Regions from separate parts of the Homo sapiens genome. Here regions 1, 2, 3, 4, 5 and 7 are each linked to region 6. Evidence: promoter capture Hi-C in 16 types of primary human blood cells and fetal thymus (Javierre and others, 2016). All regions are on one chromosome and are shown on one strand. Each heading gives the region's core, a stretch centred on a gene start or on the middle of the fragment in contact. The rest is flanking DNA. Distances are from core to core; before and after follow the strand shown. Region 1 overlaps HDAC2 (histone deacetylase 2). Region 2 has its middle 7.6 kb from the start of MARCKS. Region 3 overlaps LOC124901382 (a long non-coding RNA gene). Region 4 holds the start of AMD1 (adenosylmethionine decarboxylase 1). Region 5 holds the start of CDK19 (cyclin dependent kinase 19). Region 6 holds the start of TUBE1 (tubulin epsilon 1). Region 7 overlaps HDAC2 (histone deacetylase 2).

Evidence for each region. Contacts are between HindIII fragments. The CHiCAGO score rates a contact against its expected background, and 5 or more counts as called.
Region 1: a contact is called between a fragment that was not itself captured here and the fragment with the promoter of TUBE1 in region 6, in 1 of 17 cell types (total B cells). The highest score is 7.7, in total B cells.
Region 2: a fragment that was not itself captured here is called in contact with the fragment with the promoter of TUBE1 in region 6 in 1 of 17 cell types (total B cells); the score reaches 7.4 in total B cells.
Region 3: a contact is called between a fragment that was not itself captured here and the fragment with the promoter of TUBE1 in region 6, in 2 of 17 cell types (total B cells and naive B cells). The highest score is 11.2, in total B cells.
Region 4: the fragment with the promoter of AMD1 here is called in contact with the fragment with the promoter of TUBE1 in region 6 in 1 of 17 cell types (naive CD4 T cells); the score reaches 6.6 in naive CD4 T cells.
Region 5: the fragment with the promoter of CDK19 here is called in contact with the fragment with the promoter of TUBE1 in region 6 in 6 of 17 cell types (total CD8 T cells, naive CD4 T cells, naive CD8 T cells and 3 more); the score reaches 7.4 in total CD8 T cells.
Region 7: a fragment that was not itself captured here is called in contact with the fragment with the promoter of TUBE1 in region 6 in 5 of 17 cell types (naive B cells, total B cells, naive CD4 T cells and 2 more); the score reaches 12.2 in naive B cells.

What each region holds. Positions count from the first base shown.
Region 1 is chr6:113,956,455-113,960,020 of GRCh38, forward strand. HDAC2 (histone deacetylase 2) reads right to left here. Exons shown (of 14, transcript NM_001527.4): 2 at 3,452-3,564; 3 at 2,195-2,312; 4 at 165-239. Among named protein-coding and RNA genes, the nearest start is that of HDAC2-AS2, 11 kb to the right of the region's middle. The HindIII fragment of the contact is 288 bases long and covers 1,343-1,630 here.
Region 2 is chr6:113,847,924-113,851,507 of GRCh38, forward strand. No RefSeq gene overlaps it. Among named protein-coding and RNA genes, the nearest start is that of MARCKS, 7.6 kb to the right of the region's middle. The HindIII fragment of the contact is 1,235 bases long and covers 650-1,884 here.
Region 3 is chr6:113,881,501-113,885,482 of GRCh38, forward strand. LOC124901382 (a long non-coding RNA gene) reads left to right here. Exons shown (of 3, transcript XR_007059716.1): 2 at 1-3,712; 3 at 3,823-3,982. Among named protein-coding and RNA genes, the nearest start is that of MROCKI, 10 kb to the left of the region's middle. The HindIII fragment of the contact is 2,224 bases long and covers 286-2,509 here.
Region 4 is chr6:110,873,392-110,877,345 of GRCh38, forward strand. AMD1 (adenosylmethionine decarboxylase 1) reads left to right here and starts at 1,394. Exons shown (of 9, transcript NM_001634.6): 1 at 1,394-1,824. The coding sequence starts at 1,715. RefSeq lists enhancers at 1,816-2,531, 2,532-3,246 and silencers at 1,969-2,218, 2,279-2,348, 2,379-2,568. The HindIII fragment of the contact is 4,442 bases long and covers 1-2,685 here.
Region 5 is chr6:110,814,033-110,817,808 of GRCh38, forward strand. CDK19 (cyclin dependent kinase 19) reads right to left here and starts at 1,437. Exons shown (of 13, transcript NM_015076.5): 1 at 977-1,437. The coding sequence starts at 1,104. It also overlaps a transcript of AMD1 not described here. RefSeq lists enhancers at 188-297, 532-1,084, 1,658-1,737 and a silencer at 708-1,017. The HindIII fragment of the contact is 5,084 bases long and covers 1-3,776 here.
Region 6 is chr6:112,084,803-112,088,753 of GRCh38, forward strand. TUBE1 (tubulin epsilon 1) reads right to left here and starts at 2,680. Exons shown (of 12, transcript NM_016262.5): 1 at 2,608-2,680; 2 at 2,431-2,504; 3 at 1,754-1,806. The coding sequence starts at 2,632. It overlaps FAM229B (family with sequence similarity 229 member B), which reads left to right and starts at 2,789. Exons shown (of 4, transcript NM_001033564.3): 1 at 2,789-2,918. RefSeq lists enhancers at 2,210-2,259, 2,394-2,925, 2,660-2,849. The HindIII fragment of the contact is 2,028 bases long and covers 1,282-3,309 here.
Region 7 is chr6:113,937,789-113,941,934 of GRCh38, forward strand. It overlaps HDAC2 (histone deacetylase 2), which reads right to left. Exons shown (of 14, transcript NM_001527.4): 13 at 3,920-3,977; 14 at 1-3,300. The coding sequence ends at 3,270. Among named protein-coding and RNA genes, the nearest start is that of HDAC2-AS2, 30 kb to the right of the region's middle. The HindIII fragment of the contact is 4,520 bases long and covers 1-4,111 here.

The sequences.
Region 1 (3,566 bases), core at 237-2,736, 1.9 Mb after region 6:
AAAACATAGAGGTTTGAAAGTAAATTGTACTTTACTATAAACATACTGATTTCCTTTTGTTATCAAAATTCACAATCATTAAAACTTCTGTTTTACACAAATAACCCGAAAGATAACACACCAAGTTCAGATCAACTTTTAAATCTGATTGCATTAGCACTTACCAACTGAACCGCCAGTTGAGAGCTGACAAAACTCAAAGAGTCCATCAAACACTGGACAATCTTCTCCAACATTAACTGTGGAAGATGGATTTCATTAATTTCAACACATTCTGCAAATTAATGAAAGCCTTTTCTTACAAAAACTATTTCCCACAAATACTTTTTTGCTTGATGCAATCATCAAACATACACTTCACAGTATAATATAAAGTTTCCAACTTTAAAATATATTTATTGTTTTATCCAAGGTAATTAAAGTGTTATCTGTGAAAGATCATCAAATCTTATCAGGATTATCTGTGGAATATTTCTGTCTATTAACAAGAACTCAATAGTTGTCTAAGTACAACAATTCTTATTTAATTAAAACACAGGCTTAAATTTTCTAGGCCTTTCCCCTTAATATTACAATAAGTTAACATTCTAAAAGCAACTTCAATTGCTTTATAATTTACTTTCTTTGAAACTCCTTAAATACCTATAATATCTGTAACTTTGAAATGCATGTCAGTAAGTTACTAAACCAAAAAGATGTAACAGCTGGTTGCCTATTCCCATGGCTAATCTTGATCTTGAAAGTTGCTAAGAATTAACTAGGTTCATGGGAGCCAAAACATAGGATACTAAAGACAACAAGGAAAACATTTACAGATAAACGATCACACATTTAGTTCCTTAGCACTGAGAGAATGAAAGGATATGGCAGATGTATGTAACCCTTTCTTAGTCTTTCCCTATGCCCTTGAATTGTAACCTCTTCAAGAATAAGGGTCCTTGTTTTGTATATTAATATCTTTGTATACCCTTAAGTCACAAGCACTATAAGAAATGAATTTTAGTTTCTTACTGCACAGAGAGATCATAATCTTTTTTTTTTTTTGGAGACAGAGTCTCACTCTGTCGCCCAGGCTGGAGTGCAATGGCGTGAGCTTGGCTCACTGCAACCTCCACCTCTGGGGCTCAAGCAAGCAATTCTCCTGTCTCAGCCTACAGAGTAGTGGGATTACAGGCGCGCACCACCACACCCAGCTAATTTTCTGTACTTTTTTAATAGAGACAGGGTTTTGCCATGTTGGCCAGGCTGGTTTCGAACTCCTGACCTCAGGTAATCCACTCACCTCCGCCTCCCAAAGTGCTGGGATTACAGGCGTGAGCCACCACACCTGGCCAGGATCATAAGCTTAATAGAACTCATTATTATGTGGGTTTTAAATCAATCCTGTTATGTTGTTTGCCCAAGGGCTACTCATGCCTCTTTTGCATCTAAGTTGGAATCTTCATTGAAAAAAAAAAAATTAAATACTACATGTTCTAGTTACATTGTAGCATTATAACAAATCAAACAAGATATGGCAGAAATGTGTATGAGGTTGTAAATATGAGATGTCTAGCACCTACACTAATTTAGTATAATCATCACTGAAGTCAGTCAATACAAACACTAATGAGAATGAACTTTGGTATCAAGCTTTAAAAGATACTGTTCCAATAATTTTAGGTTGACTTTTGCATTCTACCTTCAAGCCAATTTGTTACTAATCTCTAAAAATAAAATACTTTTAACCTGTACAAGAGAACATTACGTAGAATCAAAAGCTTCACTAATATCTTAACAAAGAAAAAGAGATGTGTATTATAGTCCAGGTTAACTGAAGTACACAAAGACAAGACAAGAGATATGTACATGCCAAGCTAAGGCTAATCAAAGTGTAATCTTGTTTTTGTTTTTTTGAAGCGAGGGAGTAAGGGAGTGAGGTCTCCCTACCAATATGTATTAACCCAAAGTTATCAGGGGAGCAAACTAGGAGTAGAAGAATACCCAAACAGCAGTTTTGCAAACCAATAAGCTTCAGATAGGTTTACTTTTTTCTTAAGTAGCTTTAGTAGTGTTAAAATGACTTTTCAAATCAGTAAATAACTGTAACATATTAGACCAACAGGAAAAATATTCAGATTTAGATCATTCTAAGCTCCTAAAAATACTAATTTACATTTATCAAAGCAAAACTACTTTTTACTTAGAAACGTACATCTCTGCATCTGCTTACTATACTCAGACATGTTATCTGGTCTTATTGACCGTAGAAATTTGATATACTCATCACTGTGATATTTTGTCATTTCTTCGGCAGTGGCTTTATGGGGCCTCTGTGAAGAGAAATAAATGTCAGAACTGTGGAATTACAACCGGTTATATCAGTATTATCAAACAAATATACAAATTCCCCTATCGGTCCCCTCAAAAGAACCAAGTCTACCAGAACAAAATATATAAATTCCAAAACTAACCCAAACTTATATGTGTTTTAGAAAACAGTAATCAATCTCAAAACTAATTCAAACTCCTTTAAAAGCATTACACAGGCATATCAACTATGATTTAATCACTCCTTATTTTAGTGGAAACAGTTCGAGTAAAAAGTCAAATCCATATGTTCATAAACTCTACTTTCTCTCCTTTTCCATGATAAAACATCCAGTGATTTCATCAATGAAATCACTCACTACAAGAGTTTTCAATTCTAAATCTTTGTTCACGACCTCTCGTCCTTTTTTCTATCCTAATCTTCCTTGTTCCGAAGAGCTCAATTTCACGTATGACACAATTCTTCCACAAGACTTCCAGACTGAGTCTTATTCTAACTTCCCCTCTTCTCTAAATGTCTACATGTAACTGAAAATAATTCACATATTCACATATATTGCCTAGCATTAATTGTTTTAAATATTTCTTTTCTCCCCAAATAGCTAATTGTCGTGTCTGTATTTGTTTATACATACCCTCATCTTTATCTACAAAAACATTAAGGCAGCTGTTGCACTTGTGTTATCTGTACTATGCTTGGCCACACTAACACAGTATTCCATATGTATTATATGCCCTGCAAATATTTGTGGGATTAATTTTATGTGTTATTATTTTGTAACAGTCCCAGGTCAACTCTTTTCAGCAGCACAGGCAGATTAACAATTATTGTAAAAAAAAAAAAAAAAAAAAAAATACTTAATATGCTACACTGAGTTGTTGCTATACTGAGTTGTTCTCCAGAACCATGAAAGCCTAGGGTAGGGGGAACTTTTTTAAATGGTTAAAGGAAAAGGAAAAAGAGGGTATAGCTCTCATTCTTATTCATCTCCTAAGAATAAACGAAAAAAGAAGTTTGTTTTCTTCCAGATCTTTTCATCTGCTAAATGCCCTCAAAAGGGGAATAATAGACAAAGTTTCACAGTAGCTAAAAAAAAATAAAAAAGATCAGTGCTGAATATGTATTAAAAGGAATACTCACATATATTTCCATTTTTCTGTATAAGCCATAATTTAACAGCAAGTTATGGGTCATGCGGATTCTATGAGGCTTCATGGGATGACCCTGTCCATAATAATAATTTCCAATATCACCT
Region 2 (3,584 bases), core at 17-2,516, 1.8 Mb after region 6:
CAGTGGCGTGATCTCCGCTCATTGCAACCTCCGCCTCCGAGGTTCAAGCGATTCTCCTGCCTCAGCCTCCTGAATAGCTGGGATTATAGGCGCGTGCCACCACACCTGGCTAATTTTTTTATTTTTAGTACAGACAGAGTTTCACCATGTTGGTCAGGCTGGTCTCAAACTCCTTACCTCATGATCTGCCTGCCTCGGCCTCCCAAAGTGCTGGGACTACAGGCGTGAGTCACCGAGCCCGGCCTGTAGTTGGGATTTTAAGCAAATTATTTAACAGCCTTATAACTGGGAATTCACCTAATTGATCTAATTGATCTCTGAATTTACTGTGGCTATTAAATGAAATAATATATACAATAGTGATTGAAATTTTAAAACTGTCAAGTATTTACACCTACAATCAAAATGTAAATCAAATTCCAACTGTAGCCTTAATGGAAGAATGTCACATTTTCATCACTCCCTACATTCTCAGCCATGAGTCCCCTCCATCCCAGGAATCCTTACAGTTTTCTCACAGTGGCACTGTGAAGGGCTGTACCTTCTTATCTCTGATCTCATCTCTCAGCCACATCTCACATCTGGATTCTCTTTCCAACTGTAACATTCTCTCCCTTTCTCTACACCCTACTTTACCTACATTCCAAAAAGCTTCACTCTGCTCTAAGCAACACTCACACTTTTGCCCCAGGAAAGGTAGAGGTAAGTTTTTGGCACAACTTAACCATTTATGTTTTTATTCAGTTGTCCAAAAATATGTTTTGTGATGACAATATTCTGGATAAAGTTACTAAGGATGTTTCCAGATTCAAGAATCTGACCTGTCAGATTCTGTTTGTGTGTGTGTGTGTTTCTTTGAATGCTAATTCCCACCTTGCAGATGTAGCCCTAAATACTTCTCTTACAACAGATAAAGTTTAATATTTAATATATTTCAGACAATTTTTAGTGTATCTTGATCATTTTTGTAACCTTCACAAAAACTAGAAACATCCCATAAAATTCTTAACTTTATCTGAGGCAGTATGATATAGTCAGGGAAACAGCGTCACAGCTTTGGAATTATCAAGAGCTGGACTGAGAACCCAGTCCAGACCACTCTCATGAGCAGCATAAACTTGAGCATGTTATGTTATGCCTCAGGGATTTGATTTACAAAGAAAATGGGAGTAATGGTTTCTATTTTATAAGATTACTGTAGGGATTCAAATATGTAATGGAGGCAAATCACTGTATGCCAGTGCCTGGTATAAAGTAGGTACTTAATAAATATCTGCTGAGCAAATGAAATCCTTCCCAGTCATCTCATCACAAAACCTAATAGAGTGTTGAAGGCACTGAAAAGTCCGTCAGACTGGAGGGGCCCTTACTAAAGTTCTACTTTAGCAGTAGCTTAATAAAAACTTTCTATTTATTGATTGCAACAAGTTATTTCTAAGAGTTTAATACATCTTTTTCTAAAAGTGCATTGTTATTTGGAATAAAGATAAGTGTTTGATTTTATGCTTTAATTTCTAGAACCATAGATTAGTTCAAATAGCTCATTTCAGCCACTGTTTAAGTCTCCTTTTTAATATCAGAAAGTATTTATGACTAAGGAAGCAATGAAAAATTGCCCCTTGTATGGTCCCTATACTCATCATGCTGAAGATTCAACTTTTTCTATGTGAATGTTTTACCTCCACTTCTGGTCCGCCAGTTAAGAACAATGAGAAAAGTGACTAGGTAACTCTATAAGACCAGGAACCTGATCGCCTGATCCTTTTAATGAAAACTTTGATTGCTTTTCTTTATTTACTTGCCTCTTATCTCTGAGAACAAAGTTGGAAAGGGAATTATCCCCGTGCCCTCCCCAATCTTCCACCTTCATTCCATTCTTCCAAAAGCTTATATGGAAAGTTTTCAGCCTGTCCCTGGAGGATAAATATTGCAAATTTTGAGAAATGCTACTATGGTTAAGCTTTGATTCAAAATTTCTGGAGAAAACTTTTTCTTTAAAGATTTTCCTACTTTTTGTTTATTTGTCTCTAATATTAAGTCCTACTTTTTGATTACTCTTTCAAATATTAAAAAATCTTGGCCAGGCATAATGGCTCACATCTGTAATCCCAGCACTTTGGGAAGCTGAGATGAAAGATTTGCTTGAGCCCAGGAGTTAGAGACCAGTCTGGGTAACATAGGGAGACCCTGTTTCTACAACAAATACAAAAATTAGCCAGACATGGTGGTATATGCCTATAGTTCCAGCTACTGGGGAGGCTGGGGAGGGGGTGAGAGGATCATTTGGGCCCAGGAGTTAGATCAGCCTGGGCAACAGAGCAAGACCCTGTCTCAAAAAAAAAAAGAATATATATATATCTGAGTGTGTGTGTGTGTTTGTATATGTATATATATATGTGTATGTGTGTATATGTATATATATATGTGTATGTGTGTATATATGTATATATGTGTGTGTATACATATATGTATATACATGTGCATGTGTGTGTGTGTATATATATATATGTATGGTTATTTCAATTGGTGTGCCTGAATAGCAATAACCAAAAAATACACTCTTCTTTATAGTGGTTTTGTAGTGATCACCTATTCCGACCATGTGGAGATCTAACATGCCAGAAACATCACTCCTGTTGTAGATGTGTTAGTTCTTGATTCTTCAGACAGATAAGCAGTGACTCTGATGTTTCCTAATTATGAAAGAATCTTTCTATTTGAGTACTACTGGATAGTTAATAAAGAGCACTAAAGCAAAGTCTAAAAGTAAAGAAGCTTGCAGTTTTAGTATCAATTTTAAAAACTAATAAAGCTCCTACTACAGGCTGGGGGCAGTGGCTCATGTCTGTAATCCCAGCATTTTGAGAGGTTAAGGTGGGAGAATCACTTGATCCCAGGAGTTCGGGACCAGTCTGGGCAACATAGTGAGACCCTGTCTCTATTTTTTAATTTAAAAAAAAAACTCCAACTACATATAAGGTTCTGTGCCTATTACAACCATTTGAGCTCTTATTGGATTCCTAGATGGCAGATAGACTTCAATGAACAACGGCTAACACACTATTGAACTTTATTTTCCAAACCTTCCTGAGCATCAATTTCCAAATCTGTAAAATGGGAAAATGATACAAGTTCAGGTTCTGTTGGAAGGGTGAAACACAAGCCTAGCGGACTCACACAGTGCTGTCCCTGGTACAGAGTAGGTTATCTTCCCTCCCTCCTCCTCTTTATGTATATCTGTATGAAATAATATAGGATTAACTGACATTGTGCTTTGTAATAGCACTGTCTTTTAATCTATATTCTATTTTTGTGCAAATATTGACTTATAGATATAACAAAATTGGGCATAGGTTAAAAGAGTGAATGGCTGGTAATATTAAAGAGGATGTAGAAAGATATATTTGATATATTGATTAAGCATCCTTGAGATTTATCAACCTCAAATGGGCCCTCATTACTGCTCTAAAGTCTTACCATGCCCAAAAGTCTCAATCCTATGCCTCCCAGTCATTATTCCACACCTTCTATAAGGTCATCAAACTGCAACTCTCCCTTTTCTTCTTTCCTCTTAGCTGAATAGA
Region 3 (3,982 bases), core at 148-2,647, 1.8 Mb after region 6:
ATAAAACTGGTGGAAGTTTTAAAATAATGCCCATTTCTAGAGGTGGAAAAAAATAGCAAGATCAAAGAGCCCTGGCCTCTATGAAGGGATTGTGAAAGAGGAGAGAGATAATTAAGCATTTGGTTTGTACCAAGGAGGAAACACGTTTAATTTATAGCAGGAAAGGCTTAGTTTCAAGTTGGTAGACTTCCTGGCACATTGCGCTGTAAGATACTATTGAGCTGAAAATTGCAAAGAAAGGAGAACTTACTCAATGTCAGTCAAGATGGCATTAGTAAACTTGGAAGCTTCCCTGCATCTTTTTTGGATATGAAGTATAATGATTTGACATAAATATACTACTGCCTAAAACAAAAGAGCTGGATTCTACCACTATTAGAGTCACTTAACAGGGAGAATCACTTCACCCTGGGTCTCCTGATAGCAATTCAGTAACTAAGTTCCCTTGGTTGAGTTCCAAGACCAGTAATTCTTATAAGGAGGTTCACTCTAGAGCAAATAGTGTTTATGGTGATGTTTAAGCCTTACCCACATTCAATTTGAATTACAATGGAAAGTAAAAGTATTTGACATCTAATAATCCATTTACATTTGTTAGTGATCTCAATTTAAATCACCGTGCCTATGGCCTGACAGATGAGTTACTAGATTTTGATTTTCCTGAGGTTTATAATGTTTTAAAACTCATTAACATTTTAAATATTTACTATCTCATTTTATTACATAAAGCAGCACACAAACAAACTGAAAATTATTTCTAAACCAAATTTAATCCAGAACAGTTATTAAAACAATATATGTTAAAAAATGACATTTTAAAAAGCAAATGTGAAGAAGATACAGAGAAATACTGGAGTATCCATTGTCAGAATGATTTAATTTCAGTTCAAAGGGATTTGAAGATCAGTTAATTTGTCCATCCTTCGTCATGTTATACACAGGCTGCCTCTTTGCATGTTCCTTGAAGTTGTGCAGGACAGAGCCTGTGTGGCCTCGCCCAGTGCCCTGGTGATAGATGGGAAAATGGACTTAAATGCACTTGCCCCAGGCTTCTTAAAATGTTTGATTTCTTGTTGACTTCTTGGGTGCTTTCCAAACTCCACAGTGTTGAAATAAAAGTTGACCTGCTAAATCTAAATTCACATTCTATACCAGGACATGTTGTCTGGTTAAAATGAGAACCTTGGAGGATATTATATTAAGTGAAATAATCCAGGCATAGAGAGACAAATACTGCATGTTCTCACTCATTTATGGAAGGCAAAAAAGTTGACCTCATGGAAGTAGAGAGTAGAATAGTGGCTCCTAGAGGCTGGGAAAGTTGTGTGTGTTAGGGGTGGGGTGGTAGGGAGCTAGCCAGAGGTTGATTAGCAAATACTAAGTTACTGCTAGATAGGAGGAATAAATCTTAGTGTTCTATGGCACTATAGAATGACTATAACTAACAAAAATTTACTTTCAATTTTTGTGAATAATTTATATTCAAAACCTACAAGAGTGGATTTTGAATGCTCCCAACACAAAGAAATAAAGTTTTGAGGTGATGAATTTGCTATTTACCCTGATTCGATCCCTACACAGTGTGTAGGTGTGTCAAAATATCACATGGTACCCCATAAGTATGTACAATTATTATGTCAATTAAAAATAAAAGGAAATAATCACTAGTGAAGACAAAACTGATTTAAATCTTAAAAACTTTATGCTCTCCAAATATCTAAATGCTTTCAAAACAGAATTTCAAAATGCATCCAGAGGAAGGACATAGAATAGAGTAGAAAAAATAGTGCATAGCTGTTTGGATAGCAATAGCAGTAAACCTGTTTTTTTAAAAAATGAACAGTTCCCTTGAGGTAGAAAGTAGGTAGGAGCACGTGGAAGAAGCTCAGGCCTGGAGCCATTTGGTGGCATCAACCTCTGGTGATTTGAGAGCTGCTCTGCCACCTGCGGTGCTCTCAGCAGTTCCTGTCTCATTGTCTTAATTTTATGGGATCCTGGTTTAGGTAACCTCACAGAAGCAACGATTCTTTGAGGAATCTATAAAATGTAACTTAGAGAAGTCATTGAGCGATAGCTGAAGGAGACACTGGGGAAAATTGAGAATGTGAGCAACAGCAAGCAGAGGTAGCACTAAGATATTTATTTTTGCATTTGCGGAAATGCATCTAACTTATATGTTATGTAACTTGTATCCTTTGGACTTCAAAATGCATTGAAATATATGCAAATAGAAACTTTTAACCTCTTTTTCTTTTCTGTCCTGGTGAATTATTTGTACCATGGTCATTGTGATACAATTTCTGACATTTATCCACCATGAAGGGCAAGAAATATCATATACTTCTTTGGCATTCCTTACATGTACAGCATTATGATGGGGGTAGGACAGAGTTTTATTACATTTGTCTCATATTATTAAGGTAAAGGAAAGGGAGAGATGAATCCCTAGTTTTCTAGGTTCCTGTTTATTGTCCCAAATATACCATGTATGTGTTTTTTCATTTGTCAAAGCTTATCAATTGAGTGTGAAACTCTATTTTCATTCATAGTCCACAAAGACTTACTCTAAATTGCAACCTATTGCAGTGGAAAACAAACAAAGAAAAACAAAAACAGGCTGGCTGGCACTGAAAGTGCTGGCAGGCTGAAGCAGTAATCTGTTGGTAATTTTATAAGATTTCTTTGCTGATTACTATTTGGGCAGTGTCCACATCACTGATGAGTTCACACACTCACAGCTGTTCTAGGAGCAAGACAACATCTCCAAAAACAGACAAGGATTATTCTGACCATTTAAAAAGCTGGTTCCTGCTAATAGTATTGTTGATGATCTTCTACGAGAATTTCAATTAAATGAAAATCAAATGCCAGCTCTCAGAGGCCATATGGTGTCATGAAGGAAAAGCCGCACACCCATAGTCAAGGAGCCCTGGTTCCTGCCCTGGCATTGCCAACAACTAACTGAGAAAGACAGTGATCAGCTCATGCATGCACAGACCTAGGCAAAGATCTTTAGAATCAGAGAGAAAGGACCTGCTGCTGTGGTAACCCAAAGAAACTGAGGAAAAGCTTATATTAGACTGAGAAGAAGAACAGACACATCTGAGAGGACAGAAAGGAAGGATTGGGCTCGAAGAGAAAACTGCAGAGAACACCTCCAAGTGCGGAAACAATAACTCATTAGTGCCTATAGAATGCCAAGCACTTTTTAAAAATAACTCATTAATATTTTTATTGGAACATGTAATGAATCGATCACCATCCTTTCAAATTTCATGCATTGACATCACTCAGCAGTTGCCGCATTGCAATGCCAAAGGGCCAAGCACTTTCATCTAGTATTTCTAATAGATAAAACAAACTTCCACCAGAATGTGTAATTGCGGTTGTTGAGGAAACTGAGATTCAGAGAGGTTGAATTCTTGGAGACACACAGCTGCTGCATGGCACCCCTCCTCTTACTGGAGATTTGGGCAAAGCTTTCAGATGATTCAAGCTCTCCTGAGTGAAGGGAGCCTATCGACTATGAAGATTCTCATTCTGTGTAGTCTGAAATGTTCTCACTTGACGGTAAAATGCTTCCTATTCTTTACATAGCTTGCACTGAGAAGAGAGCTACCAAAAAGAAGGAAGGAAGAGAGGAAGAAGAGGAGGAATCTGAGAGAAGAAAGTAAAGAAGAAAGGAAAAGGTAGAAAGAAAATAAACTAAAAGGTAAGAAATAAAGGGAAGAACTAGTGGGGCCAAGAGAATAAAAGGAATCTGAATAAAGATTCTATTTTCTGAAGAGTAATAAAATACCTTTCACTATGTCCTGACCCCAGGTACAGGGGCCTGTTTTCTCCAGATGTAATAACTGCTTCAAAGGAAGCTTCAGACCAGGAGCAAGTAACTTTGCCAAGTCAAGGAACTGCAAAATGGACACTCCACACTACAGAAAGCATTTATTTTGAAGAATTAGATCTATTTTCTTCATTTGCCTGG
Region 4 (3,954 bases), core at 144-2,643, 1.2 Mb before region 6:
TATGTACCTAGCTCACAACATAGCTTCTTTCAACAGGTTTCACGGAGACACGTGAACCACGTTCTTGTAAGACAAGAGCTATTCTACAGGGTATCTAGAGTGCAAACCCAAACCATGTCTTTTTCAGTGGATTTTTCATGTTGACATCATCTTATTTCACTTTGGGGAAAGTTTTTTTCTAAGGATGATAGCGAAAAGTCCTTTTGTCTTGTGACAATAGCAATTTTTATGTCAGCTTGGGTTTTTTTCCTCCCATATTCCCAAGTAAAAGTAATAACTTTGTTACCAGTTTTGCCATCTGAGGTTAAACTGTTTGACCATGGCTTGACGACTATTTTATACTTAACACTTATAAAATATTAGACTGATAGTTATTTAAGTTACCACCAGTGATAGCTCTGGAATCCCTGTTTTATTAATTTCCAGGTAAATCCTTCTTAAGCACATGGGAAGATAGCACTGTAAATTTTGGGGGGTAAGGAGAACCTCCATCAATTAATACATCAGCTTGATAAAATTCAAAGAAAAACATGATCAAATAAGTTCAGATTATATTTAACACATTCAGTTTCTAGAAGTAGTTTTGCTGAATAAATTCCCACCAGTTGAGCTAATGGAGCAACGGAGCTGCCAGTGCTTCCCGGAGGCTGCTGTGCTCAGCCAATTCGGAGGCATGGCGAGCCACACGGTGGGAGGTGGGTAAAGCCGGGGCCCTCCAAGGCTGGGCGCCACGTTGCTTTTCTCTTCTGAAATAGGAAGACAATGCTTCTGGCTATTGTATAAACCAGCCGAGGACTGCTTTCATTCGCACATCAGCCAAGGCGTGAGCAGAATTAAAGCGCCTTCTAATTCGACCCCTGGCAACGTGCGCGTCACGGACAAATGTTTAGTTTTAACGCCTGGCTGCGTTCGCCTTGGGAAAACACACTTTTAAGAATGGCCAAGTACCTCAGCAGTCGCGGTGAACTGCACAAGATCAAAACCACCACGCCAACCCAGCGCTGGCCACCGTCCCCGCTGAACCCCGCCAACACCCCTAAGGACCCACCCATGTTTTCTGCTAATCATTTTTTTTTTCTAAACAGCTCTGCACAGCCTTTCCTCATTCCGTTCCCGCTCTCCCCACCCACTCTGCGTTCGATCCGAGGTTTCTAGTCCCCAGCTGGACATCACAGCACCAACTCCCACTCAGGAGCCGGCCAGAGCCCGAGCCGCAGCGCAGTGGGCAGCTCCCCGCGCTCTCCGCCAGGCCCTCGGCCAGCCAGCCGCCACTCGGCCGCGAGTGATTGACAGGCGGCAGCAGCTATAGGCCGTGGAGGTGGGACGATGCGTCACTTCCTGGTCTTTTGGGGGGAGCCGGGATATATAAGGGCGGTGCTCACGCAGCGCTCTCGCTTACACAGTATGGCCGGCGACATTAGCTAGCGCTCGCTCTACTCTCTCTAACGGGAAAGCAGCGGAATACAAGAGACTGAACTGTATCTGCCTCTATTTCCAAAAGACTCACGTTCAACTTTCGCTCACACAAAGCCGGGAAAATTTTATTAGTCCTTTTTTTAAAAAAAGTTAATATAAAATTATAGCAAAAAAAAAAAGGAACCTGAACTTTAGTAACACAGCTGGAACAATCCGCAGCGGCGGCGGCAGCGGCGGGAGAAGAGGTTTAATTTAGTTGATTTTCTGTGGTTGTTGGTTGTTCGCTAGTCTCACGGTGATGGAAGCTGCACATTTTTTCGAAGGGACCGAGAAGCTGCTGGAGGTTTGGTTCTCCCGGCAGCAGCCCGACGCAAACCAAGGATCTGGGGATCTTCGCACTATCCCAAGGTGGGTCCCCGGGGCGCTCGCTGACATCCGGGCCTGGGGGCTGTCGCCGCCGCCGAGGCACCAGCCACGGGTGGAGCCCGAGTTCCCTCAGCTTTCAGTTGGGGGCAAGTCTGCGGCCTGGGGTCGCTTCGGCGGCCTTGGAAGGTGCGCGGTTTGGGGGAGAGCGGCCATGTCCACGCGGGCCGGAGCCGGCTTCTCCCGCCGTGGTTGCCGCGCCTGGCATTGCCCTGGGGGAGGGGAGGAGGCCGGCGCGGCCGCGTGCTCAGGTAACGTCCCGCGCTGGGCGGCGGGCGGCGCGGCCCGGGGTGGTTTTGCGGCCCGCGCCTCCCGACATTTCCCTCCGTAGTAGTTGGCGGCAGGGGCCCCAGGTGGGGGTCGGGGGCGCCTGCGCGGGTTGCCTCCGGCAGGTGTGGCTCGGCGGGCTTAGTCAGGCGCTAATTCGGGCGTGCCGGCTTCGGGGAATGGAGGGCGGGAGCGGCGCTTGTTCTTGCCTCGGGCGCGGATAGGAGGGGCCCTCCCGGCCTTGTCTGAGGGGCTGGCGAAGAGGCCTCCCACCCGCGGCGGCCGCGGGCAGCATGTGGCGTTCGGGCGGCGGGGATTGGGCGGGAGCAGTTATGTCGCAGTGGCGGGGCCCCACCGCTCCCCTAACATGCTCTGCGCCAGAGCCTTTTCGGGGCGGCTGGGCAGACGGCGCAGTCCCCGGGGCCGCCCTCGACACGGCCGCTGAGGCCGCTGGGGGCTGCTCCCCAATCTCTTGACCTTGGGTTGTGTAACCTGCTACGGAGCCGGCGGAGCGGGGCGGGAGAGGTGCGGGTGGAGGGAGGCCCGCCTGCCCCAGGACATAATGCCTCTAATGCCTTAAGCTTGAGCAAAGGAATCTGGGGCCCACTCCCACTGCGGGCCGTCACGCGAGAGATACTTGGGCTGACCGCGCCGAAGAGGCGTTTTAGTTGGTATTGCTGTGGAAATCCATGCTTATATAAAAGCCCAGAGATCCCGTGGATGCTTAGGCCTTGTTCCTGGCGGCGGTCGCACCGGTGGCCACCAATGGCCTTCCTAGGCCCTGCCACCGGATCCCTGGCTCCTCTGCGCACGAGTGCGGCTAGGGTGGCGGTGCAGCGGAGTAACTGGCGTGGCCAGCTTCATTGAGAGGCGGCGACCAATGGGCTCCTGGGCCGCACTCAGAGCCTGGCCCCAGGGTGTGGACCAATGGGCGTTTTAGGAGTGTTAGCTGTTCTTGGAGCTGTCCCTTGACAAAAAGCAACTGGAAAAGGGAATCCAGGCAGACACGTGCTACCGAGACTTTAAGGCACGACGGGAAACCCGGTTTCTAGCAGTGTATCTTGAACGATTCCATTGTAGAAAAAAATACTAGTCATAGCTAAAATGTCACACGTCTCATTTTTTTCAAGCTTCGTGTGACACTTAAAATGTCTATAGCGCTTACTACGTGCCAGGCTCACGTGAGATTATAGGAAGCGGACTTTGGTCATGGAGAAGCTTAGTATTTCCTTCATTTCACAGATGAGAAAGATGGTATTTGTGATAGACGTTTGGTAAAACGATTGTGATCAGGATAATTAACCTAGAAAATCTTGGCAAGAACCTAGAAAATCTTGGGTAAGAACAGTCCTAGAAAACGAATAACAGAAGTTGTCACTTTGGCTTTTTAAATGTTTGAGCCCTTAAATAATAGTAAGTACATGTTCTTAATAAAGGGAAGAAGATTTTGTTCTCCCCAAGTTCTTGGCGGTTTGGCTGTTTAGAGCTTCCTGAGTCAAAGTGGAGAGAGGAGGAAGAGGCTTTTTACAAAGCAGCCTGCTTTCTTTAAATGTTTAAGAACCCTTTTTACTTTGTACTTTAATCAGCCCAAATTGTTTTACTGCTCCAGTGTGGCTTTTAAAATCATGGCCAAAGTTAAACTTTGAAGGACAAAATATTCCCTTGTGTAGATGATTTAGTGCCATCCATTTTGTGGACATGTAACATTCATTGAACAACTATTGGTAGTACACTGCCACATTGTAACTGTTGTAGATAAAGCAAGTTAAGCAAGAACTGAAAAATATGTTGATTTAACTAAGGTCCCGTGATAACCTTCGTTGGAACATTTTTCAGTGACCACTCAAG
Region 5 (3,776 bases), core at 187-2,686, 1.3 Mb before region 6:
AGGACAGGTATTCTCAGTACATTATCCAGCTCTTCTTAAGAGGACAACCAGTAAAGGCTTCCCAAGGTGTTCCTACAGTTCTCCCTCAACTCCTAGGAAAACAAAGGTTCAGGCCCAGCTCTGTCACTTCGTATTCCGTTCTTGATAATATAGGTACTCCATAAGCCCCAGCCCACAGTCATCTGGCAGAGGATGGAGTGGAGGACATAATACCCAAGATACCCAAGGGGCTGCAAGGTAAAGGGTGGGTAGCAGAGAATTCAGCCAACTCTTAAGTTGCCGCTTGCGAAACGCAGCTAGCCCATCAGGTCTCCTTCGAAGGGGGAAGGTACGCAATTCAGAATGTGAGAATGAGAAACCCGGGACGCCGGGCATACAACAGGGATGGGAGGACTGCATAGAGAAGCCAACGGGCCGGCCAGCCCGAAGGGCGGAGATCGCTGCTGGGGGCGGCGGTGCCCAGCGGGTCAGAGCCGTGGGGCTGGCGAGGACCCCAGGCCGCGTTCGCCCGACAGGCTCCCCGGCGAGGTTTCAAACCGCCGCCCCCGCGAGGCGCTCAGCCGATTGGAAGTTCCACAACGACCGTCACTACCCAGGGCCGGAGCGGCAACTCCGCAGCGGAGCTCTGCCTGCCCGCTGCGTTCCCCCAAGAGACTAGACCCCACAAACTCCTCCTCCACCGCGGTCCCAACTCGAGTCCCCCCGCCGTCTCCGAGCACTCGGAGGGCGCCCCTCTGGGACGGGACCGACGCCTCGGACCGGGCTGCGCCGCGGGAGTTCGAGGTACGCGACGGGGCCGCGCGGGGGAGGCGGGCGGAACGGGCGCCCCTCGGAGTCGGTGTCCGGACGCAACCCCGCGACCCCCTCCGCCTCGCCCCTCGGGCACGGCCCGACTGGGATCCGACCCACCCATCCCGCCAGGTCGCGGGCAGGGCGAGGACCCGAGCGAGCCTACTCCTCCCGCCCCTGCTCTTACCCATCTTTCCGCCTCGCCTTGTAGACGTGACCGTAGGTGCCGCGTCCCACTTTGCACCCTTCGTACTCAAACAAATCCTCCACCCGCTCCCGCTCCGCCGCCAGCTTCGCCTTGAAATCATAATCCATTGTCTGCTTCCCCCATAGAGGCACGGGACGCGGGGGCCGCCGCCGCTCAGTCCCTCCTCCTCCTCCCCCCGCGACCGCCGCTCCACTTCTCCAACAGCCGCCTCTCGCGCGCGCGCGCGCGCCGCCCGCCGCCCGCCGCTCCGCGGTCCGCCTTCAGCAAGGGACTCCTCGGCGGCCACAGCAGCCACCTCCTCCACCTCTTCCTCCTCCTCCTCCGCGACGGCGGCGGCGGCTCCCGCAGGCACCCCCAGTCCCGCCTCCCTCCTTCATTTCCTTGTTTTGGAACCTGGTGGGCCGCGCCGTGGCTTCCTCGAGCTCATTAGCGAACTCACTGGCCCGCCCCATGGTCGCGGAGGCTCCTGGGAAATGAAGTCGCGAAGGCCTCAGCGGCCTGGGCGGTTTTGCCGGCGTAAGAAATACAGCTCCCAGGTTACCTCGGGCCACCACAGCCTCGCCCCCACAAAGCATGCGCGCCTGCGTACCAGGGCCGCCCCTCCCCCTCAGGTAGCGCACGGCTCCCGGTTCCTGTGAAGGTAGAAAGCTCGAAGTTCCAGTGTGCTTTCTGCGGTTCTCGGGGAGACACTGGAAAGAAGTGCCTTACTCTAGTGGGAAGGGGATACTTCACTGTAACTAGCCCCACGCAGAGAGTATGGAAAGCATTAAATCAGCACCTTGCTGAAGGGTTGGCTGCAGTGACTCGGGAGGCGAGGGCTGGTGAGGACAGTTGTACCGCAGCTTGTTTCTTTTCTAGGGCAGTGGGTCCGCCTATTGCCCCGCCCCCCGTCCCGCTGCTCATTGGCGGGGGCTGGAGAATGACGTCCTCGTTGGTGCGTGGGTATCCCCAGGCTTTGGCTTCTTTCCCGCTCTTGATTGGTGATTGGATGTGCTCGGTTCTTCCTGATAGGTTGATCTTTTTTCTTTACGATGCAAAAACCGTATTTCAAAAACTGAACCTTCAGCAGTTTCCTAGAGCCTGCCTTGGCCAGAGGAGAACATGCAACTTCTGAGCCCCAGCAGCCAATCATCATTTTCTTGGCGCTGTAGTCAGCTTTCTCTTAGCATATGCGGTTCCCATAACCAGGCTTTGGCCATCTGTCTAAGGACAATTAAAAGTGCCTGGAGGAAGCCGCGTTTACGATCCTTTGGGTTGAATTGTAAAGGATTTTTTATGGTCTATGCATGATGTGAGGTTCTAGAATGTTTAAGAAAGCCCCTTTAGTTAGGGTGAACGTTGATTGATTTCATTGTGTTGGGGCTCAGGACACACTACCCCAAATTATAACTGAAGGAGTCCAGAATATGCCACCCCAAAATACGCCACTCTGGCATATTGATGTCTTTTAGCAAAATAAATTAAGATCCAGCCAACACAGGAAAATGCTTCACTTATCCCACTACTGCCTAAAATAAAGAATAACTCTTCCTTTGTAAAGAGAAATTTACATTTCTAAAGGAAATTTTCGTAATTAAAGGAATCTTACCAGAAAGAGAGCTGCTGCTAGTCAACTTGTATCATCTGAGATACTTTTATCTGCATAAAAGTCAACCTTTATTCACCTTAGACATTTTTTCCTCTTATCCTCTCTTAACTTGTCTCCACCACTCCTGGAAGCCCCAAACCCCACTTTTGTTTTGAAGAGACTGGCCTTGCTGTGTTGCCCAGGCTGGCGTCCAACTCCTGAGCTCAAGGATCCTCCTGCCTCAGACTCCTGAGTAGCTGGGATTACAGGTCCGTGCCACCATGCCGGGCCCCACTTCCTTTTTGAGGTCAGGATGTAATATAAGTGTCAAACATCTGGCCCTTCTTTGAGTCTCATATTTTGTGGGACTCTTGTGCATACATACGTAATTAAAACTTTTTCTCCTGTTAACCTGACTGGTATCAATTTAGTTTATAGACCAGCTGAAGAACCTAAGAGGGTTTCCTCCCCTGTAATGGTGAGCCTAATGTCCCAAATGTTTGGGATACACACTTAAACATGATTGGTGCTAGGATAGGACATAACACATTCATTAGGAGGACAAAGAAGGGAATTGTCAATTCTACCCAAAGTGGTAGATAAGGAAAGAATAGTGAACTGCCTGCTAGGTTTTGAAAGAAACTTGGAAAACTAGTGGGAGGGGGAATGATTTACCTTATTTGCTACATCACCCACTCCTGGAAAACTTCCTTAGACCTTGAGTCTCTTCAGGCTGGGTGCAGTGGCTCACACCTGTAATCCCAGCACTTTGGGAGGCCAAGGCGGGTGGATCACGAGGTCTGGAGTTCAAGACCAGCCTGGCCAAGACAGTGAAACCCTGCCTCTTATTAAAAATGCAAAAATTAGCCAGGTGTGGTAGCATGTGTCTGTAGTCCCATTTACTCGGGAGGCTGAGGCAGGAGAATCCCTTGAACCCGGGAGGCAGAAGTTGCAGTGAGCTGAGACCATGCCACTGCACTCCAGCCTGGGCAACAGAGCAAGACCCCGACTCAAAAAAAAATGGTATCTTTAATCAAGAAAAATCTCAGTTGCTCTTGTTGCCATGCACTATAATAACTGCTGGAGATAGCAGGAAAAAAATTAGTCTTTTTCCATTGGGGAATTAAACCTGAAAAAACAAATATGCAAGCAAATTAAAAATAAACTGTGGTTTAAAAGAGCACTGGTAGAATAGGCGGGGTTCTAAGTGAG
Region 6 (3,951 bases), core at 1,430-3,929:
TCAACTGATATAACTGGTATTTACCATTGAGTATCTAAGGTTGTTCTCAGAATTTCACGTTGGAAATAAGTTGCCAAAGTACTAAAATCTAACGCAGTATATGGGTCAATAAAGACAGTTCACAAGACGGAATATATGAAGGGTAGCCAATCATCAGGCCAAATTCAACTAGCTGCCTGTTTTCCTAAATAAAATTTTATTCAAATGTGGACACACCCATTCCTTTATGTATTACCTATGCCCACAATCATGCTACAGATCAAGTAGTGGTGCAAAAGACTTTATGGTTCACAAAACCTAAAATATTTACTGCCTGGTCCTTTACAGAAAATATATGCATGCCAACCCATGCTGTAGGTAAATTCCTATCATGCTACTCAAAAGGTATAAAAATTTGATAAGAATAGTACACAAAGATATGGTTTTACTTTGAAAAATATTTTTTGTACTAAGCTGTGGAACAGATGCTGCATGTGTTGATAGTACACAGAAAGAAGTGCAAGATGCCACAACCCTGTTTGCCAAACTTACCGGGAAAATAATAGTGCTCTCAGGTTAAAGTATAAAACACACAGAGTAGATGAGAGTGTAGTTATGAAGAGTCACCTTATGAAGAAAGAAAAGCTCCCAGGCTGAGTCTCAACTATGTAATACTCAATGTAAGCGTTGGGTAACAAGAAGTAAAGAGGTGGGTGTAGGAACTTAGCAAGAGAAGCGCCGGAAAGGAAGTATGACAGAAGCAAATTTGAGTCTCCTAAGAGAATTTAGAGGTGAGGATATTGTGGGCTACAAATAAGAGGGAATCTATAGTCTATATGACAGATATCTCCATAAAATAAATATAAATGATACCAGCCATTAAAGTAACTAACTTCCTTTGGTCTGATTCCATGGTCACCAAGCAACCTTCAGATTATTACACAGCTTTTCAGTTAGATTTCCTACAAAAGATAAAGTAATGTGCCTATGAAAATGAGAATTTGGTCTTTGGTTAACCTGGCTGTACTGGAGAGCACTGAACCCATCTCGAGATGCCAATGACACTTCTGAGTTTGCAAGCCAGTGCCCTAGATAGACTCTGGAATTCACCCAGGAAGCGCGGACTAATCAGCTTTCTCTGAAGATAACTGCTCACACACCCAGCCAACTATTTTAAACTAGAACTGATGTTCCTATTGGATTAAAGCCTGACACGAAGTATGTATTTTTCAGTTTAAGCACAGGACAGTTAGTTTTATGAAGTATTTTGAAAATGCATGAACTTAATGATTTAATATTAAAAGCTTATGGAGATATCCTAAACGGCAACTTAAATTACTCTTCCAGATAAAACATATATGGTACTTACATATACTCTTTATTAAATAAACAAAAACAATCCAACAACTGCTTGTCACCTTTTTAAGTATATTTTTATACTTACAGCATATATGTAAACAATATATTTTTCTTTCAAAAGTTAGTTATTACAGGATGCATTAACAAGATGCCCTCTGGGAAAATTTCAGCTTTCTTTTAATGAAACTTATTTCAAGGTTAAGTTAAAAGAAGTCACACTAAAGGGAAATCTGTTGTCTTCTTCGGGAAAATGATATAAGAATATTAATAATCTAATAGAATAAATATGCTTTCAATAATGAAACAAAAAAACACAACTTCGCAGCTGGCTATTTTTATTGTCCTTTGAAGAATTCTCTCCCAAGCTACTGAAACTTAAAGTATCACACTGTGACAGACTTTAATCCCATCTTACCTGGTGTCCACATTTCTAAAGAAGCTGCTTATTGCCTCATCATAAATTCCTTTCTAAAAAGAAAAACATATGTTAATAGCATTTAGGTTTTGCTTCTCGCCCAAATCAAGTTCTTTCAATTTTAATTACATAATACTGTAATGGCTAGGATGAGACTCTGATAAGAAAAACCAAGTATCACAAAATGCGGAGCCTGACTCTTCCCAATCTCCTTAGAAGAGTAAATGCCAGATCTACAGATAAAAAGTTCAGCAGGGGGTGCTAAAGAAAGGATTTCACCCATAGGACTGTAGGACAGGTCCATCAAATGAGCGTTCTCTGGATTCTTCGTAATCTTTTTAAAAGCTGACTGGTTAAATTAAGGAATACAATAACCACACGTGTTATCTATTTTACAAAGTACTTTCCCATATACAAATCTCACTGTTCTGCACACGAACACCAATAAAGAGGAGACCCTGAGAATCAGGAAAAACGTTAAGACTAAGGTCGCTGGCCAGTGTTCTTTTAGTTTAGTGTGTGTCTGACGCAACATGTTTAAAAACCAGTACGTTCTTTACTGGGAAGATCCCATGCATCTTAAACGGGTCAGATGAAAGCTCAAGTCGATTATTTCCTGCGTATGGGCTGGAAGACCTAGCTGACAGGCGAGGGGGCTCGCGGCGGCGGGCGGGTACCTGGTTGACCGCGGCGTGCTCCCTTAGTGCCAGGTCCCAGAAGCAGCAGCCGATCTGGTTTCCGCACTGGCCGACTGCGACCGGAGGAGAGGAAGGAAAGAGAATAGGACATTAAGCAGGAAACATGGCCGCTGGATTCCGCGGCGACCAGGTCTCTACCCGCCCGGCGTAGCTTACCCTGTACGACCACCGACTGGGTCATGGTGGTGCGCCGCCGGCTCCGGGAGCTTGCTAGCCCGCGGCCGCTTCTGCATTCCCCCAGCAACGGCGCTCTGCTAGAGAGCTGCCGTAAGTCACGCTACTGCCGCAAGCCTCTGCCGTCGCTAAGCACGTCTGTAGGTTCAGGCTAAGGTTTTCCGTCAGAAGGCCGCGCAAGTGCACTTGCGTGTCACCGTTACCGTAGCGACTGGGCTTCTGGACTGTATATCCTAGCTGCCTTGTCAACATCTTCGAGCATCGGCAGCTCCGGAGGCCGGGGTAACTGGCAGGTAACTAGGCTTTGGAGTGGTATTTTAAAATATGTGTCGTTAAGCTGTTCGTGGGCTATCAGAGGTTTAATTTTTGTTCACAGCCTCAACACCCGGGGCGGTGGATCAGTCCGTTTATTCAGATTCCACGGGACGCTGCGTTGGCATCTCTGTTCAACAAGCCCTTTATTCTAATAGAAAATGAACAATGGCGTTGAGCAAAGAGAAACCCCAGAGAAATAGTCATGTCAGGGCACAATTGAAACTAGATGGTTATACGCTTTGACAAAAATGGCAAAGCTAAGGTCACAGACCCAACCAGTATTTGTTGAACGCTGTATACTCCCCAAATTAACTTGTAGGCTCGCTGGGAAGATTAGAAAGAAATTAAGGCATAGATCCAGTTCCAAGAAGCTTACAATCTAATTGAAGACATACACGCGAAATACTTAAAGAATTGTGTGGCGTTGACTATAAGTGCAATAGGATTCAGTGGTTGAGGATGTAGATGAGTATGTAGAAGTCTGATAGAAGACACGAGATTAACACTAGGCATTTAGATGGGTATTTAGATGGGATAGGCAGGAGAAGATTAAAAAGTTAGGCATTATGACAATTACCAACTACTTAAAATTGTCAAACATTAAAATATGTAAACTTCTATTGATCAAATTAGACCAGATTTTAATTAAGAACTCAAGTACTTCTTTAATGAAATTAATATTTTCCACAAAAATTCTGAAGAACTACGAAACTCTAAGAAGTCTTCTTTGTTTAATAAAAAGTTATATGGTATGTGCTATGAATATGTGCTAATATGAACTGTAATATTCAATGGATTAGAACACTTTATTGTCCCACCAAGACACGTAGTAGTTACTATTAAATTTCTCTGGTAGCCGGTAGGTTTAAAGTTGCAATGGATTTTATATCTTTTGGTAATAGGCAGCTTTCGGTCAGTAAATTTTTGTAGGCTGGATTTATTCTTAACTTCTTACTGAGTATGGGGTCAGTGGTAGAGGTAAAGTTGGGCATTTTAGGTCTTGATGCTAAA
Region 7 (4,146 bases), core at 602-3,101, 1.9 Mb after region 6:
ATGTAGTGAGATATGATCAGGCTACCACACTCCATCCTGGGTGACCGAGATCCTTTCTCTAAAAAAAAGAGATAAACAGCCAGGTGCGGCAGCTCACACCTGTAATCCCAGCACTTTGGAAGGCCAAGGTGGGTGGATCATGAGGTCAGGAGTTCGAGGCCAGCCTGGCCAACATAGTGAAACCCCGTCTCTACTAAAAATGCGAACAATTAGCTGGGCGTGGTGACAGGCGCCTGTAATCCCAGCTACTCAGGAGGCTGAGGCAGGAGAATGGCTTCAACCTGGGAGGCGGAGGTTGCAGTGAGCCGAGATTGCGCCATTGCACACCAGCCTGGGCAACAGCGAGACTCCGTCTCAAAAAAAGAAAAAATAAATAAACATAATAGGTTTAAAAAACTAAGTTAAAAAATAAGTCTCTCTATAGCTTTTTATTTACTGAGGTTAAAGATCTTTTCATATTTACAAACTATTTATATGTATTTGTTTCCCAGTTCACATCCTTATACATTTTGTTCCTCTACTATCTTTAGATATGAGCCTTTTGACCTGGATGAGTTACAAATCTGCCTCCCACTCTGTCTTTTGTCATTTTTCTTGACTTGTCTTCTAAGTTTTTGTTGGTCCACTGAACTAATTTTTTTTTTGTTATCAAATATATCTTTTATAGTTGAGTTTGGTGTCACACTTAGGCCTTCTTCAATCCATTTGCTTTAAGAGTTTAGGTTTTTGGTAGTTTTATCTTTTCCTATTTAAATCTTCTAGTGGAGGGCAGAAAACTGGGTTTTCCATTTGGTTACCAGTTGTTGTCCCAATTCCACTTACAAAATAATGTCTTTCCTTGCCAATTTCAAATATCATTTTTATCCTATATGAATTTTTTAAAGTATTAGGGTATTCTGACATCTTACTATGTTACATTGACCTTACTAGACACAAGAACCATAGCTTCTTTACATATTATTTCTAAAAATTTTGTTATTACAAATGGGGGTCTTTGTTCTTCCAACAGACTTGGTCACTAAGTGTTACTGATTTCTGTTTATTAATGCTGTACCAAATCACCTTGCTGAAATTGCTTTAGATAGTTCTCTTGAGGTTTTAGTTGTATATAACCAACTACTTAGAAAAACAAAACCTCTTAAATACACCCAAGGAGATCCAGTATAGTATTGAAGTGTACAATTTCAGTATGTTCACACAATGGAACATAATACATAGCAGTCAAAATGAACTATACTTAACATGTGTCAACAGGGGTAGATCAGAATATTAAATGAAAAAAAGCAAAGGGCCTTTGTCTCCTGGCACCCGGATACTGAGCTCAGTTTCCGTCTTCACTGTTCCATCTCCTCCATCCACTACTCCAGGATCTCATAGGTGACTCTACCACAGCCCCTGTTGTCCTGTGAGCTGCAGGCACTGGGAAATCCACAGGGAGGATGCCAGAACATCTGGAGCCTGCGAAATGGTATTTTCTTATTTAAAACAGGATCATCATGGTAGACGGGAGGCATGGTGGGAGGGGGGCGAGGGATAAAAGATTACAAATAGGGTGCAGTGTACACTGCTTGGGTGATGGGTCCACCAAAATCCCACAAATCACCACTAAAGAACTTAATCATGTAACCAAACACCACCTGTTCCCCAATAAGCTATGGAAAAATAAAAATAAAAAAAGCAAAGTTACAGAATTGTCCAAATACATACCATCTATGTTTCACAAACACTAAATACATTTCATTATCCCCCTAACGAAGGGACTAAGTTTCTTAGTTCCTAATGTCATAAAGGTTTACAGATTGATAACAAATATGTAGCAAAAGTACAAAAACATGGGTAAAATATTCACAAAAACATGGATAAAATAATCACAATGGTGATTACTTCTTAAGGCTGGGAGGGAGGGAGGATTACAAACGACAAAGTACACAAAGAGAGCTTCAATTTCGGTGTATTTTAAGAAAAAAACACCGAAGCAAATATAGCAAAAGTAAAATATTTGTTAAGTCGGGGTGGGTGCACAGCTGTTCATTACAAAAGTCTAGGTGCTATTGTGAATGTCTGAAACATTTAAGAGGCTTGTAGAGAAATATTTTTTCTTTTAATATTTTACTGCACTGAAGAGAAATACTTTTGACTGAATTATCTTCTGGCATTCTGTAATTTTTAATCTCAAAAGAATCAATGTGGGCCTGACAAAAAGGGAGATTTCACTGATTTTGGCAAGTTCCTAAAATGTTTTGTCTTCTTTGCACATCTTAGTAGCAGGAGTTACCCCCATTTGTCTGCTTCCTGCTACTAGAATGTAAGCTCTGAGTGTAAGCTCTGAGTGAAAGCATTTTTCCATTATATTCAGTTACACTCCTACAGTCTTAAAATGGGCAGACACACAATAAGTAGTTGCTGAATGATAAATCAGTTGTGTTTATTTCCTTGAGTTAGAAACCTGGATGTCACGTAAATAATAATGGAACCTGGATGCCATGTAAATGCAGTAAAAGAAACAGGTTTTGTCTGCAGGTTCCATTTTAAACCAGCAATATACTATAGGCAAGTCTGGTCAATACAAGTTCTGGTCAGTTTCTTCTTTCAATTCAGAATTTCCATTTCAATTTTGAGAATCTTTGGGTCAACTCAAAGAACTCCTACATCTCAATTGCAGAGTCTGTATTATTTCATAAATTGTAATGGGATGTTAATCTTCACTGATACTAACTGGCTAAGCTATAGAGGGCAAGGTGGTAGAATTTCTATTGCAAAGATAAGTAATAATTACTATAAATACTCTTCCCAAAGAAACAGCAAATAGTTATCTTTCAAGCTGTAATCATTATCTTTCACCTAGAGTGTATTGTAAGTCTACAGAAATGATGTCATTAGCCACTGAAACAAGACTTCATATTGTAGTAATAAACAGACAAAAGATAATCCAAGTACAATTTTTTAATAAAGATAATTACAAAAGATGGAAAAATCAGCTCAGAAAGGCCAATTACTTCTTTAATAGATCAGTTTTTTTGACATAATAACTCACATCAATTTTAAATACTATCACATAAAGCATGGTGGAGAAAAGAAATTTTGCTTCATAATTAGAAAAACTCACAATAAAACTTGCCAAGAAAAACAAAAACGAAAAAGCCATTTGAAAATAAATACAGTCCATGCCAAAGTAGTATAAAATGAAGCCAGAAGTCTTCAAAAAGAAAACATTTTCCTTTCAATATTTTCTTTTTAATGATTTTCTGAAATTGGTGAGACTGTCAAATTCAGGGGTTGCTGAGCTGTTCTGATTTGGTTCTGTTAAAAGAGGCAATGTGAAATATTAAAAATGGCACAATCTTGGTTTAAATGCACTGACCTATTATATTGATCAGGTCCTGTAGGCTCATGCTAAGAAACACATTAATTGATAATGTCTTAAGTGTTTCTGGAGTAATTAATGCCTTAATTTTTCTAGTGATTTAATAAACTATTCCAAGTTATCCTGTAAAGGCTGGCACAAAATTATGTGTGCCCAAACATTTACATGCTTTCTGACACTAAAATCCTCAACTGTTTTTACTTAAAATTGTTTCTTAAATTTACCTATCTCACAACACTAAAAAAATCATGTACACAGAAATAAGAACACCATGAAAACCATTAAGTGCATATATAAAAGATAACAGCAAAAAAGGGTCTCAGATAAACTACGTACAAGAATACAAACTGACTGATATAGTTATACTGATAAACCAATAGGTAAGATGGCATATGTTGTCTTATGTACCAATACAAACTAAAATTCAGAGCACCTCATAATGATGTTCTAAGGTTCAGTCTAGTATTTCTGAAGTGTGTACACAAACACACACCAATAAACATGTTTAGTATTTTTATAGTATGTAAAAAGTACTTGATAAGGAACATCATTTACCCTTTGGTATCTGTTTTTTCACCACTGTTGTCCTTGGATTTATCTTCTTCCTTAACGTCTAAAAATAAAGATTGGGAAAAGATTAAAACCTATTTTGAAATATAAAATGTATATATATTATTTCAAAATATACTTTATTTTTAAAATATAAAAAGTTATGCAATCTTATTATTAATGAATTCGGTCTAAATAAGCTTTGTGTTGGGTGTTTCCTAAACGATGGCAGT